Regions from separate parts of the Homo sapiens genome. Here region 2 is linked to region 1. Evidence: promoter capture Hi-C in 16 types of primary human blood cells and fetal thymus (Javierre and others, 2016). All regions are on one chromosome and are shown on one strand. Each heading gives the region's core, a stretch centred on a gene start or on the middle of the fragment in contact. The rest is flanking DNA. Distances are from core to core; before and after follow the strand shown.

Evidence for each region. The method cuts DNA at HindIII sites, captures the fragments that hold promoters and counts their contacts. A CHiCAGO score of 5 or more calls a contact.
Region 2: a contact is called between a fragment that was not itself captured here and the fragment with the promoter of USP8 in region 1, in 1 of 17 cell types (non-activated CD4 T cells). The highest score is 5.8, in non-activated CD4 T cells.

Annotation. Positions count from the first base shown.
Region 1 is chr15:50,420,678-50,427,320 of GRCh38, reverse strand. USP8 (ubiquitin specific peptidase 8) reads right to left here and starts at 2,916. Exons shown (of 20, transcript NM_005154.5): 1 at 2,807-2,916. RefSeq lists enhancers at 2,669-3,058, 3,097-4,093 and a silencer at 3,169-3,218. The HindIII fragment of the contact is 13,730 bases long and covers 2,368-6,643 here.
Region 2 is chr15:50,926,163-50,932,805 of GRCh38, reverse strand. AP4E1 (adaptor related protein complex 4 subunit epsilon 1) reads right to left here. Exons shown (of 21, transcript NM_007347.5): 6 at 3,638-3,797; 7 at 1,835-2,001. Among named protein-coding and RNA genes, the nearest start is that of AP4E1, 21 kb to the right of the region's middle. The HindIII fragment of the contact is 2,622 bases long and covers 2,207-4,828 here.

The DNA of each region.
Region 1 (6,643 bases), core at 1,667-4,166:
AGTGAAAAAATATACAAAAACATGCTTTGAAAACTGTAATATGCCATTACAACATAAAGTATTACGGTTAAAGAAATTGGAAATGGGTCAGGCGCGGTGGCTCACGCCTGTAATTCCAGCACTTTCGGAGGTTGAGGCAGGTGGATCACAGGTCAAGAGATCAAGATCATCCTGGCCAACATGGTGAAACCCCATCTCTACTAAAAATACAAAAATTAGCTGGGCTTGGTGACATGCTACTCGGGAGGCTGAGGCAGGAGAATGGCGTGAACCCAGGAGGCAGAGGTTGCAGTGAGCTGAGATCGTACACTGCACTCCAGGCTGACAACAGAGCAAGACTCCATCTCAAAAAAAAAAAAAGAAGAAGAAGAAAGAAAGAAACTGGAAATTGGAAGTGTACCTGATTCTTCATCTGCTATATAAATGCAAACAAGAGTCCAATACAACTTTGTCATCAAAATTATAGTAGGCAAAGCACGGCCACAAATTCTTTGACATTTTTCCTTTCAAAGGTGAGGGTTGTACGCTGGTCTTTGCTCTAACCAACAGAGTATGTTGGAAGTAATGTTGTGCGAATTTCTGGGCTCAGGCTTTTTGGGAGACTGGCAGCTTCTACTTCCTGACTCCTCAAACATGTATTCTCGGAACCTAGCCGCCATACTGTTCAAGTCACGTGAAGAGGCTATGTGTGGGCATTCCAGTTGACATTTCCAGCTGAACTCCTAGCCAACATCAAACGCCTTCACGTGAATTAGCCATTTTGGATGTCCAGACCAGCTGAGCTCTCGGTTGACTCCAAACTCAGCTGCTTATCTGAATACAAACGCATTAAACTCTAGGTGAAAACCACTTAGCTAAGTCCAGGCAGGCCAGAGAAACAGGAGAGATACTAAATTACAGTTTTAAGTCACTATGTTTTGGAGTGATTTGTTATGCAGCAATAGGTAACTGGGACAACAACAAGGTATTTTTTAAATGTTTCCTTAATTATATCTAATTTTATTAGCAACACATACCTGAAGACATTTTTTTCCTTTCACTTCCATAAATATGAGTGCATTTTCATGGAGAAAAGTTCGTAATATAGTGCTAGACTTATGAAAAAAATTTAATGTACTGGCTTTATTTTCCAACTGTCTTACCCAAAAGTCATTTTGATTATTTTCCATTATGTCCACGCTTTTTATTTTTTATTTTTTGAGACGGAGTTTTGCTCTTGTCACCCAGGCTGGAGTGCAATGACGCAATCTCGGCTCACTGCAACCTTCGCTTTCCAGGTTCAAGCGATTCTCCTGCCTCAGCCTCCAGAGTAGCTGGGACTACAGGCGTGCACCACCACGCCCAGCTAATTTTGTATTTTTAGTAGAGACCGGGTTTCGCCATGTTGGCCAGGCTGATCTCGAACTCCTGACCTCAGTGATCCGCCCACCTCCGCCTCCCAAAGTGCTAGGATTACAGATGTGAGCCACTGCGCCCAGCCACGTCCACATTAATAAACAAATGCCCATAAAGATTAAAGTCCAAGTAAATATATTAAAAAACGAAATGCTAAAAAAGGCACCTTTAAAACATTTTTGTTAGTTTTTCTTATACATTGTTTTCTTAAAAAAACAGATGTCTATGTGCAAAATTTCATTAATGAGAGGTGTATTTTTTTTTTAAACTACTACAGGGTCTTCACTAATATTAAAGATGCATCCAATGTGTCACAAGAAAAGGAATACATATTTCAAAGCAGCCATATCAACATGATAAAGACATAACACAACCGATATCACCTTCCAGATATGCTTAATAGTCCAGGGATATGCTGTAAGGAGAAACTACCCAAATCCATCATGAATGACATTCACCAACGAATCTTAAACAGAATCGGCTGAAATGCAAAAATCTGCTTACATAGCAAAGCCGCAGCAGAGCAAGCCTAAAACAGGAATACTTCCTTAACAAATACCACTTGGCATTTTTAATGGCTGCAGCAAGATATTTACAAAACTAACGATGCTTTGCAGATTCAGAAAAGGTAACATCCTTTAGATATAAATCCCTTTCATCTGAAACCCTCAGGTCTCTTAACAAATACTAAATTCCTTAGGCTCTGCAACACCTCCGTGTCAGGTAAATTTTTTGTTAGTGATTAAGTGACTTGTTCAAGGTCACAGAATGAACTGGAGGCAAGAAATAAACCCAGGAGGGTGGTCTGCAGCTTTATAATGCACATCACTGCTAGTAAGGATTCTGATAATTTCCAAGGTGGAGTGGCGGTGAAATTAACTTGTCCCACAACTCTAGGATGGAAGGCACTTTTTAGGGGAAAAAAAAAAAATCTTCTATTTGAGGAAGTCATAGTTTTAACTCTGACAAGCTTATAGGGTCTTTAAACTCAAACTTCACTAAAATCAAGTGTGACTGGGGAAGAAGAGAAACTGGGAAACAGTTTTAGGAGCTACAGTAAGGCCTGGGATTGTAGGCAGATTGCAGAAAAAAAAAAAAACCGGAAGCAAGAGGAAAGAGGTCAAAGTCGGGTATAAGTGTCCAAGAGAACGGAAGATTGGTCAAAGCCACCTTTTAAAACCAAAAAAACACACGAAACTCGCTTGGCAATCCTAGGTAGATGGCGTAAAAGACTCAAGGTTGGGCCTTTCCTCTCCACAAGCTGATTCTACCTTTAGGAGTTGTCCCACTCCTCTCCGCGGACAGAGCTTGTCTCCGGGGTAACCAGCAGCTGGTGGAAGGAAAGGCGTTCATCGTTCACAGCGGACGACTTCCCAGAGAACAGGTGCTAGGGCCCAAGACCCGCACTCACCGTGACGCCGGGCGCGCTTCACTAACGCCAGCCTTCTCGCCAAATGCCCATCTCCCAAGAACTCGAGGGAGAATTAGCCTTGGCTACCAGGACGGAAGCCAGCCCAGCTCACCCCCTTTTCCCGATTTGCATTGCGAGGCGACGCGTCGCGTCTCCAGACGTCACGGCAGGGGCGGGGCTTCGCGTGCGCTCCCTTGACTCCTCTCTCTTCCACCGCCCTCCCCTTTTCGGTGAGGGCCGCGGGGCGAGGGATGGTCGAGGGAGGGTCGAGGAGGACGTTATGGGTGGGCGGTGGCGGCAAGGGCGGGGTTTCTCTGAGTCGGGTCAACATAGTTGGCCGGTCCCTTACCCCCCGCACTGCACCCTGCATTTCCGGGTTGCAAGGCGGCGCCTGGGCCTTGTTGTGGAAGAAGCAAGGTTGCTCTTGCGTCCCTTTACTACGTTATTTTCCTCCTCAGATTGGAAATTAGAAAAAAGGGGATTTAACGCCCCTCTATTTCTGGCTAAACATTCTCTGAAGCCAAGCCTTTGGTCAAAGAAAAACAAGTATTATCCTAAAACATATTTTATGTACAATTTTTAACGTCACTTAAAAGGCCCCGGCGAGGCTGGGCACGGTGGCTCACGCCTGTAATCCCAGCGCTTTGGGAGGCCGAGGCGGGCAAATGATGAGGTCAGGAGTTCGAGACCAGCCTGGCCAACATGGTGAAACCCCCGTCTCTATTAAGAATACAAAAAATTAGCTTGGCGTGGTGGCGTGCGCCTGTAATCCTAGCTACTCCAGTGGCTGAGGCAGGAGAATTGCTTAAACCCGGGGAGCGAAGGTTGCAATGAGCCGAGATCGCGCTACTGCACTCCAGCCTGGGCAGCAGAGCAAGACTCCGTCTGGTTGGGCGAAGGCCCCGTGTAATAGAAACGAAATGAGACGTCTGAACTTTCTCGCGAGCTGATCTTTGTACTCTCTTAGAGAAAGGTGATTGGATGCTCCGGTTGCCTGTAAACATAAAATTGACTTGGGTGGAGCTTTAGGCAGTAGTCACTAAGTCCTCAGGAACATTCCAGGTGTCTCAGGGATGGGAAATCTGGCTAGCGAGGTCTAGTAAATGCTTTAAGTGAAAGTGTGTGCCACATGGTACAGTGTACACTGCTCGGGTGATGGGTGCACCAAAATCTCAGAAATGACCACTAAAGAACTTTTCCATGCAACCTGTTCCTCCAAAACTACTGAAATAAAAATTTTTAAAAATAAAAAAGGATAAAATAAAGAAAGTGTGTTCAATGAATTTGTGATGAAGGCCAGGTTGCAGTGGCCCAGGCCTGTAATCCCAGCACTTTGGGAGGCTGAGGCAGGAGGATCCCTTGATCCCAAGAGACAGAGACCAGCTTGAGCAACAAAGGGAGACCCTCATCTCTACAAAACAAAAATTTAAAAATTAGACCGGGAGCGGTAGCTCACGCCTGTAATCCCAGCACTTTGGGAGGCCAAGGTGGGCAGATCACTTGAGGTCAGGAGTTTGAGACCAGCCTGGCCAAAATGGCAAAACCTGGTCTCTACTAAAAATACAAACATTAGCTGGGCATGGTGGCGCGTGCCTGTAATCCCAGCTACTGAGGAGGCTGAGTCAGTGAATCGCTTGAACCTGGAAGGTGGAGGTTGCAGTGAGCCGAGATCGTGCCACTGCACTCCAGCCTGGGCAACAGAGCGAGACTCCTTCTCCAAAGAAAAAATCTAAGTTACAAATAGGATTTCCATTTTCCATAGAATCTAAAACTCCCCAAATTGCTGTGAACTACAGCAGTATTTTCTCCATTTGGTAAGAGACATAAGGACAGCTTAACTACCCTTCTTTATCCAAACTAAGTCAAAAACAGAACCCAGGTTTCCTGATTCCCACTCCCAAGTAAAACTAAATAGGTTTTATGTATGTTGCAGCTGTTGCACCCTTTTCCTCTTTGAAATAAAACTTTTCTATTTCATTGGGGAAAGAAAACATGACTGAAAGTCCAAAATGTGGCCAGGCGCGGTGGTTCATGCCTGTAATCCCAGCACTTTGGGAGGCCAAGGCGGACGGATCACGAGGTCAGGAGATCGAGACCATCCTGGCTAACACGGTGAAACCCCATCTCTGCTAAAAATACAAAAAATTAGCCAGGCGTGGTGGAGGGCGCCTGTAGTCCCAGCTACTCAGGAGGCTGAGGCAGGAGAATGGCGTGAACCCGAGAGGTGGAGCTTGCAGTGAGCCGAGATGGTGCCACTGCACTCCAGCCTGGGCGACAGAGCAAGACTCCATCTCGAAAAAAAAAAGAAAGTCCAAAGTGTTAGCTTAGAGCTCAAAACACTAGCTGCTGTTTCAAGGTCCAGGACATTAAATCCAGATGAGGGCCTTCACCTTTGACACCTGCCCTCGAGTCCTTCAGACATGTTGAGAGAGACTGAGACAGGGGTCTTGCAGGGTCAGGCAGGAAGGAGAAGCACAGCAATATACATATATAATATACATAAAACTGATTAGATTTGTTTAAGAGTGGTGGGGATTAGGGCCATGTGGAGAACTCATGGCCTGTCTACATTGTTGCCATGTGGTAATGGGGCAGAGTATTGCCAATTTTCTGATTTTCTGTGTGTGGGAAAAATCTCCAAACTGGTTTTTAAATTTGGGGAATATATATATATATATATATAACCCATATACATACGGATTATGTTAGTTGACAACAACAGTATACATAAAAAAATTTACAAACACTGCAAAACAAATAAAATCCAAGCCATCCATTTGTGACCATAGTCATAAGCATTAACTTAGCCAGGGGCTTTTAGATAATTCTCTGTTAAAGAGGAATTCTGAGAAAAGACTAAGATAACCAAAATGAACATAATGTCAAAGAATGAAATCATGGGAACAATTTGGATTTTGTTCCAAAGTCAAGTGTTTTTTAAAGAATCTTTCCATACTTCATGTTTTGTTCTATGGAGTTCAACCTTTTGACTTCCATGGCCCTTTAGATCTCTTTCGAGCACATTCCATGATTTTTCTCCTGATCATACTCCCTCCACAAAAACCTTTTTCAGCTGGGTGTGGGAGCTCACTCCTGTAATCCCAGCACTATGGGAGGCTGAGGTGCGTGGATTGCTTGAGGTCAGGAGTTTGAGATCAGCCTGGGCAACATAGCAAGACCCTATCCCTACAAAATATTAAAAAATTAGCCTGGCACAGTTGGTGCATGCCTGTAGTCCAAGCTACTTGGGAGGCTGAGGCAGGAGGATTGGTTGCACCCAGGAGTTTGAGGCTTCAGTGAGCTGTAATTCCGCCACTGAACTCCATCCTGGGTGATGGAGTGAAGACCCTGTCTCTTTGAAAAAAATAATAATAACGATAATTAATTTTTAAAAACCCCTTTTTAATTTCCCAACATTTTTTGGCTACTATGATCTCTAAGTGTTACTTCAAATAATTTCCAGTGAATCCACACTTGATGTTGCAGAGCCTGAGTTTGCTGCAGAAATATAATTTCCCACACTCTATGCCTAAAGGGGATTCAGAGCTATCACTGAAAACCAAAAGTATTGGTTTTTAAAGGTGCTTAGACAAAAAAGTCAGGAAAGGCACTCTAAATGTTTAACAGCAATCATCTTTGGGGTATGGGCATCTTGGTAGGTACAGTGTGGTGGATGTCCGTATTTTATCCACCTGAGAGATTATTTGAACTTGTTACACTGAATGTGTATTACTTTTATAATAAAAAATAATTAAGATTTAAAACAATGTATTTGATTAGTAAAAAGCAAATTATATAAATCAGTTTAATAATAATGTTAAGGAGGCCATTAAACAA
Region 2 (6,643 bases), core at 2,268-4,767, 500 kb before region 1:
TCAGTAGTTGAGATTCATAAACACAGAAAAAAGTAACACTATAATACCAACAGTGATGTAGCCCAATTAGTGCTAGTCAGGAGCTCACAGGCAAATGGATTCTGACCTTAAGTTGATTTCTAGAAGCAAAAGCCTGGAGAATGGTCCCTTTGTAAAGCTAGGCTAAAACATTAGAATACAAAGGTACCCTACTATATAAAAGGGAACAATATTCATAAAATCAGAACACTGATTAGCAAACATTTTCTTAAGACAGAAACATATCAGGAACTCTAGCCAAGGTCCTTGCTCTCAAGGGAACTAAAATCTCAAGGGGCTTGCTCTCAAGCAACTCGGAAATAGTTTTTAAAATAAAAATAATATGTAGGTGCACATGCAAATGCATACACACATGCACACACAGAGAATGAGAATGATAGAACAAATGAAAATAAATTGATGAATCTAGGTGCAGGATGTAAGGGAACTCCTTGTACTGTCCTTAGAACTTTGAAAGTGTCTAAGTTTGAAAAAGTAGGGCAAAATTGAGGCCGGGGCGGTGGCTCACGCCTGTCATCCCAGCACTTTAGGAGGCTGAGGCAGGGAGATCATCTGAGGTCAGGAGCTCGAGACCAGCCTGGCCAACATGGTGAAATCCATTTCTACTAAAAATACAAAAATTAGCCGGGCATGGTGGTGTGCGCCTGTAATCCCAGCTACTTGGGAAACTGAGGTGGGAAAATCTCTTGAATCCGGGAGGTGGAGGTTGCAGTGAGCTGAGATCGCGCCACTACACTCCAGCCTGGGCAACACAGCAAGACTTAGTCTCAAAAACAAAAAAAAAATGGCAAAATTGAAAGTATATATATATATAGTTGGAAAGATACACATGAGAAGTTTAAGTTATTGGCTAAAAGAATAATTCAGATAAATGAATTAAAAAGGTGAAGCACTCACACCCAACCAGAGCAAGGGTTGGCAAACTATAGCCCGCAGGCCTAATCTGGCCAAATGCCTGGTTTTGTATGGCTTCAAGCTAAGAAGAGATTTTACAGTTTGAAATAGTTGGAAAAAAAATTAAAAGAATAATACTTCATGATGTGCCGATTTGAGATTCAAGTTTTAATGTCCATAATGTTTATTTATGTTCTATCTGTGGCTGCTTTCATGCTGTAATAGCAGAGTCGAATAGATGCAAAAAACAACATATGGCCCACAAAGCCTAAAATATTTATTTATTTATTTATTATTATTATTTTTTGAGACAGAGTCTCGCTTTGTCACCCAGGCTGGAGTGCAGTGGCACAATCTCGGCTCACTGCAACCTACACCTCCTGGGTTCAAGTGATTCTCCTACCTCAGCCTCCCGAGTAGCTAGGATTACAGGCGCGCGCCACTGTGCCCAACTAATTTTTGTATTTTTAGTAGAGACGGGGTTTCACAATGTTGGTCAGGCTGGTCTCAAACTCCTGACCTTGTGATCCGCCACCTCAGCCTCCCAAGTGCTGGGATTACAGGCGTGAGCCACCATGCCCGGCCACCTAAAATATTTATTATCTGGCCCTTTGCAGAAAGTTTCCCAACCCCTGAACTAGAACAATTACGAAAGCATCACAGAGGAGATGGTGTTTCATGGGTACCTTTCATGATGGGTAAAATTAAGATAAGGAGAGAGCCAGGATTATCCCAGCAACCTGAAAGCATTTATGTGATTCTTACAATGGCTTCTTTTATCACTATTAAGCCAATTAAACATTGGAAGAATCTGGTTTATCATTAAACCTCTAGGTTACTAAAGTCTAAGCTTATCATCTGGTATGGGGGTCATTAAGCAAACTTACTGAAAATAGTTTACCTTTGATCATCTTTTCCTAGAAGTCCCAGTATTCTCAAGAGCTGAATTTGTAACCATGGTGCTGGCACACTGTGGTAATTGAATTCTACTGGGAGCTTTCCTCCAACTACTTGCTTCAAAATGGTTACAAAACTCCCAGTCAAGTCTTTATATCCAGATGAATTCTCCTACATCCCCCCGCAAAAAAAACTTTGTTAATAACGTCTTATTAAATAGAAATAGACCTAATTGAAATGTCATATAGAACCTGACTTAATACATACTTAAGTTTATGTTCACATTTAATGAAACAGTGCTCTAATATGTATAATATCTTCCATGATAAAATTCCTCTGGCTAACCAACCCAAAGCTGAATCATCCCAGAAAAGCTTCCATCACTCCCTACTTTTCCCCGTATACAGTTTAATCACATTTCAAAATTCTTATATCTTAGGTAGAATCCTTAATAGCCAATACCAGTAATTAAAACAAAAAGTGAAAAGAACTGGCATACTGCAAAAGGACAGTAATACCTCGGCTTTGGATGAAAATCAAGGCCTATTTGCAATCTCTGAACTCTGTTTCCAAAAGACTTCCCATGTAAATGAGTTAAATTCATTCTGGGGCCGGGCACAGTGGCTCACGCCAGTAATCCCAACACTTTGGGAGGATGAGGCGGGCGGATCACCTGAGGTTGGGAGTTCGAGACCAGCCTGACCAACATGGTGAAACCCTGGTTCTACTAAAAATACCAAATAAGCCGGGTGTGGTGGCACATGCCTGTAATCCCAGCTACTCGAGAGGCTGAGGCAGGAGAATCGCTTGAACCTGGGACGGGGAGGTTGTGGTGAGCTGAGATCATGCCATTGCACTCCAGCCTGGGCAACAAAAGCGAAACTCAATCTCAAAAAAAAAAAAGTCCCCAAAATCAGTGTGCCTGCCAATTAAAAATTAATTAGCCACACAGTATCTAAAAATATTTGTTTCTGAAGGAGTGTGCCTTGATTATGTATCTGAGTAATCTCTTGGACTGGGGAAATTATATCCACACTCCTTAAAAGGAACATTAGATTCTTTATTCTAATTTTTATTATGTATCAAGGGAAAATTTTTTGGAAGGGAAATAAAGCTCTTTCAAATTTTAGTAAATGTTAAGGAAAAAATAAAATTTAATATTGAACATTTATTTAAACTGTACTATTTTAGAACACGATACATAAAAAACAATATAACTTTAAATGAGTTCAATAGCATATTTTATTTTGTTATAGTAGGTGCCATGAAATCTGTTACAAATATGTATATTTGAACACAAATGGTTTCAGGCAATACACTAAGGATGAATTAGTATAAATCCACCATCGCCATTTAGAAAAGTGTTTTACCATAACATTCAACCCTCTTTCCTCATATGATACAGAATTAATACATGGAGTCAATACTACAATCTATAGCTTGCACAACCCCCGCTGGTTTTCCTCATTTCTATAAAATGTTATGCATCCCATGAAGTTATATAAAAGAGAATTACTGCTTGAAAAAACACAAATCTGCAAACTTAAGACACCTTCCACTGATACCATTTTTCCACACCTGTTTAGTAACATCAAAAAATTTTAGGCATTAAAAAAAAAAAAACTAATTCTGTAATGTGCCTACAACTCATGCTCTCAACAACTTGCAAAACTACTAATTCAAAGGTCAATAATAAAATTATAAAATGTTAACTAAGCATTTTACCAAAATATCTGTTTCTTTTTAATTCCATAATTGTATTTTTCTAATGGTAACTACTCAGTACTTGCTAAAATTTCCAACTTACCTTAATCATTCTAAGATATATATGCAAGGAGGCAGCCATGACCCCAACATCTCTGTCACAAAGTGCTTTCCGAAACTTAATATGAATATGTTGTACTTGATTAGGAGCAATGAGATGGAATTTGTATAATGCCAGAACAGCTTTTCTTCGTACAATCTCCCTGAAGACAAAAAATGAAATTTAAACAAGACAATCTGAATTCTCAAGTATTTACTTTGAAAGATTATAGGCCAGATGATTTCAAAATACTGGCTCATTACCTTAATTTACAAAGAAAGAGATAACTATACATTTGTGATTAATTTATTTATTCTAATATACCAAATTATAAAAAGTGGTTACCTCTAGGAAGTAAGGTCTCAAAACTTTAACTGCCCGTGTTATATATTTATCTAGTTAGGGAATTTTTTTTTGTAACAAGCATATATTACTTTTGAGATTAAAAAAAAAAAAACATGAAAAACAAATTTCTTAATTCTCTAATTCCATTTTTAAAAGACGTATCTCTAAAAATTGAAAAAAAAAGTCAACAGTAAGTTTAAGTAATAGGTAATTTCAGCTAGTAATATTAAAATCTTTTTATTAATATTAAAAATCTTTGGCCTGTAATCCCAGCACTTTGGGAGGCTGAGGTGGGTGGATCACTTGAGGCCAGGAGTTCAAAACCAGCCTGGCCAACATGGCGAAACCCTGTCTCTACTAAAAATACAAAAATTAGCCAGGTGTGGTGGTGCACACCTGTAGTTCCAGTTACTTGGGTGGCTGAGGCACAAGAATCGCTTGAACCTGGGAGGCAGAAGTTGCAGTGAGCCAAGGTTGTGCCACTGCACTCCAACCTGGTGACAGAGTAAGACTCAGTCTCAAATTAAAAAGGAAAGAAAAGAAAAAAAACTCGTTAACATTCTCACCCTAAAATAGTAGCTTTCTATGTTTCTTTTTTATATATATATATCACTGGATAGCAGACTCCAAATATTCTGGGGGACAGAGGGGAGGAATACAAGGACACACATGGAATAAAAAGATGTTATTCCTCTCTTTGCCCAGTTCATCTGTTTCAAAACCTCATGATAATAAAGAGAAAAGTATATACTAGTTTTGCACTTCATCTGTAGCAGATAACATCTAGCACACAGAAGCAAAAATAAAGAAATGCCATCCTATGTTCATGATGTAGTTTCCAAGGAAGCTTCTTCCTTGTTAGAAATTCTCTCTCTTGTCTATTTCTACATATCTGTTATTTGCAGACTATGCTGGCAGTGCTCAGAACAGCAGCAAACATCACAAAAGTGAAGTATTTACTTTTAGGGTTCCTTAACAGATATTTCTGTCGTAGAATCTCAAGACTGAGACTATTCAGTGCAATCCTTTGTGTTCCACTCAAGAACTCCTTTTATAAGATTCTTAATAAGTGGTCATACAAATTCCATTAATAAACAACTCTTATCTTCCTAGGCAAGCTATGCCATAACGGAAAACTCTTCACAAAAAAAAAAAGAAAAGAAAAGAAAGGCAGATTAATAACAGATTTACTGTTAGTATTAATACTGTGGTGAATGCAAGCCACGTCACAGTGTATTGCCATTGCGTGTTAACTGATATTAATTCTGGGGGAGAATAGGTAAATGAAGTGAGGAAAAAAAAAAAAAAAACTCTGAATAGGCCCAGGAGTTCACAGGCCTGGCCTCAAGTGGTGGTACTAACATAAGACGAGAGACCTAGATTCAGGCTCTGGGGTTGGTATGCTGAAATACAACCAGGGATTCAAAAGTTGAATTCAAGCCTTATTTCAAATATTCTTTGTGACATCTACTGGCTTACCTATAGCTCTGCCTCATATTCGTCAGCTCTTTACTCCAGAGCATGGGGCTGAGTATGGCCATAACTGCAAAAGCTGAGTTTCAAAAAGTCTAAACTCTAGCCAGGACTTGAAATTAGACTAAACACAAAGCAATAAAGAAAAAAATTGAAACGGGACCTTTCAATTCTCAGAAGGATTTCATACAAATGGTCAGTAAGTAAGGTCACCACAAAAGTAGTGGTAAGGAAAAGTTAAGCAAAAATATGCTGCTTTTATAATCAGATCACCTTATAAATCTCAAAAAAGCAAATATTTCCAATAATTAATTGTCCATAATCATCCTTCGTTCTAAACACAGATATGATATACAATACATAAAAAGTCTGAAAGACCTATGAAGTTATTCTGTAATTCTTAGTAAAAGCTATCATTTTAGCTGGAAGATTCATGATTCAATATTTCTTAAAGTATACAAGTTGGCCGGGCATGGTGGCTCACGCCTGTAAGCCCAGCACTTTGGGAGGCCAAGACAGGTGGATCACGAGGTCAGGAGTTCGAGACCAGCTTGGCCTATATGGTGAAACACTGTCTCTACTAAAACATTAGCCAGGCATAGTGGCGGGCGCCTGTAGTTCCAACTACTCAGGAGGCTGAGGCAGAAGAATAGCTTGAACCCGGGAGGCAGAGGTTGCAGTGAGCCAAGATCACACCACTGCACTCCAGCCTGGGCGACCGAGCAAGACTCCATCTCAAAAAAAAAAAAGAATACAAGCTATAAAACAACATTTTGCAATCTCAGAACATTAAAAATACTGATTTAAAGTATGTAAAATAAATGTTGTATGAGTAACAAAAAAATCTTCATCAAGAATATATAACTGACATACCATAATCACAATGATTGCAAACCTTTTCCAACTTTAAAAATTATGGGCCAGGCGCAGTGGCTCACATGTGTAATCTCAGCACTTTGGGAGGCCGAGGCAGGTGAATCACAAGGTCAGGAGTTCAAGATCAGCCGGGCCAAGATGGTGAAACCCTGCCTCCACTAAAAATACAAAAAATTAGCTGGGCATGGTGGCGTGTTCCTGTAATTCCAGCTACTCAGGAGGCTGAGGCAGAGAACTGCTTAAACCTGGGAGGTGGAGCGTGCAGTGAGCCGAGATCACTCCACCGCACTCCAGCCTAGGCAACAGAGTGAGACT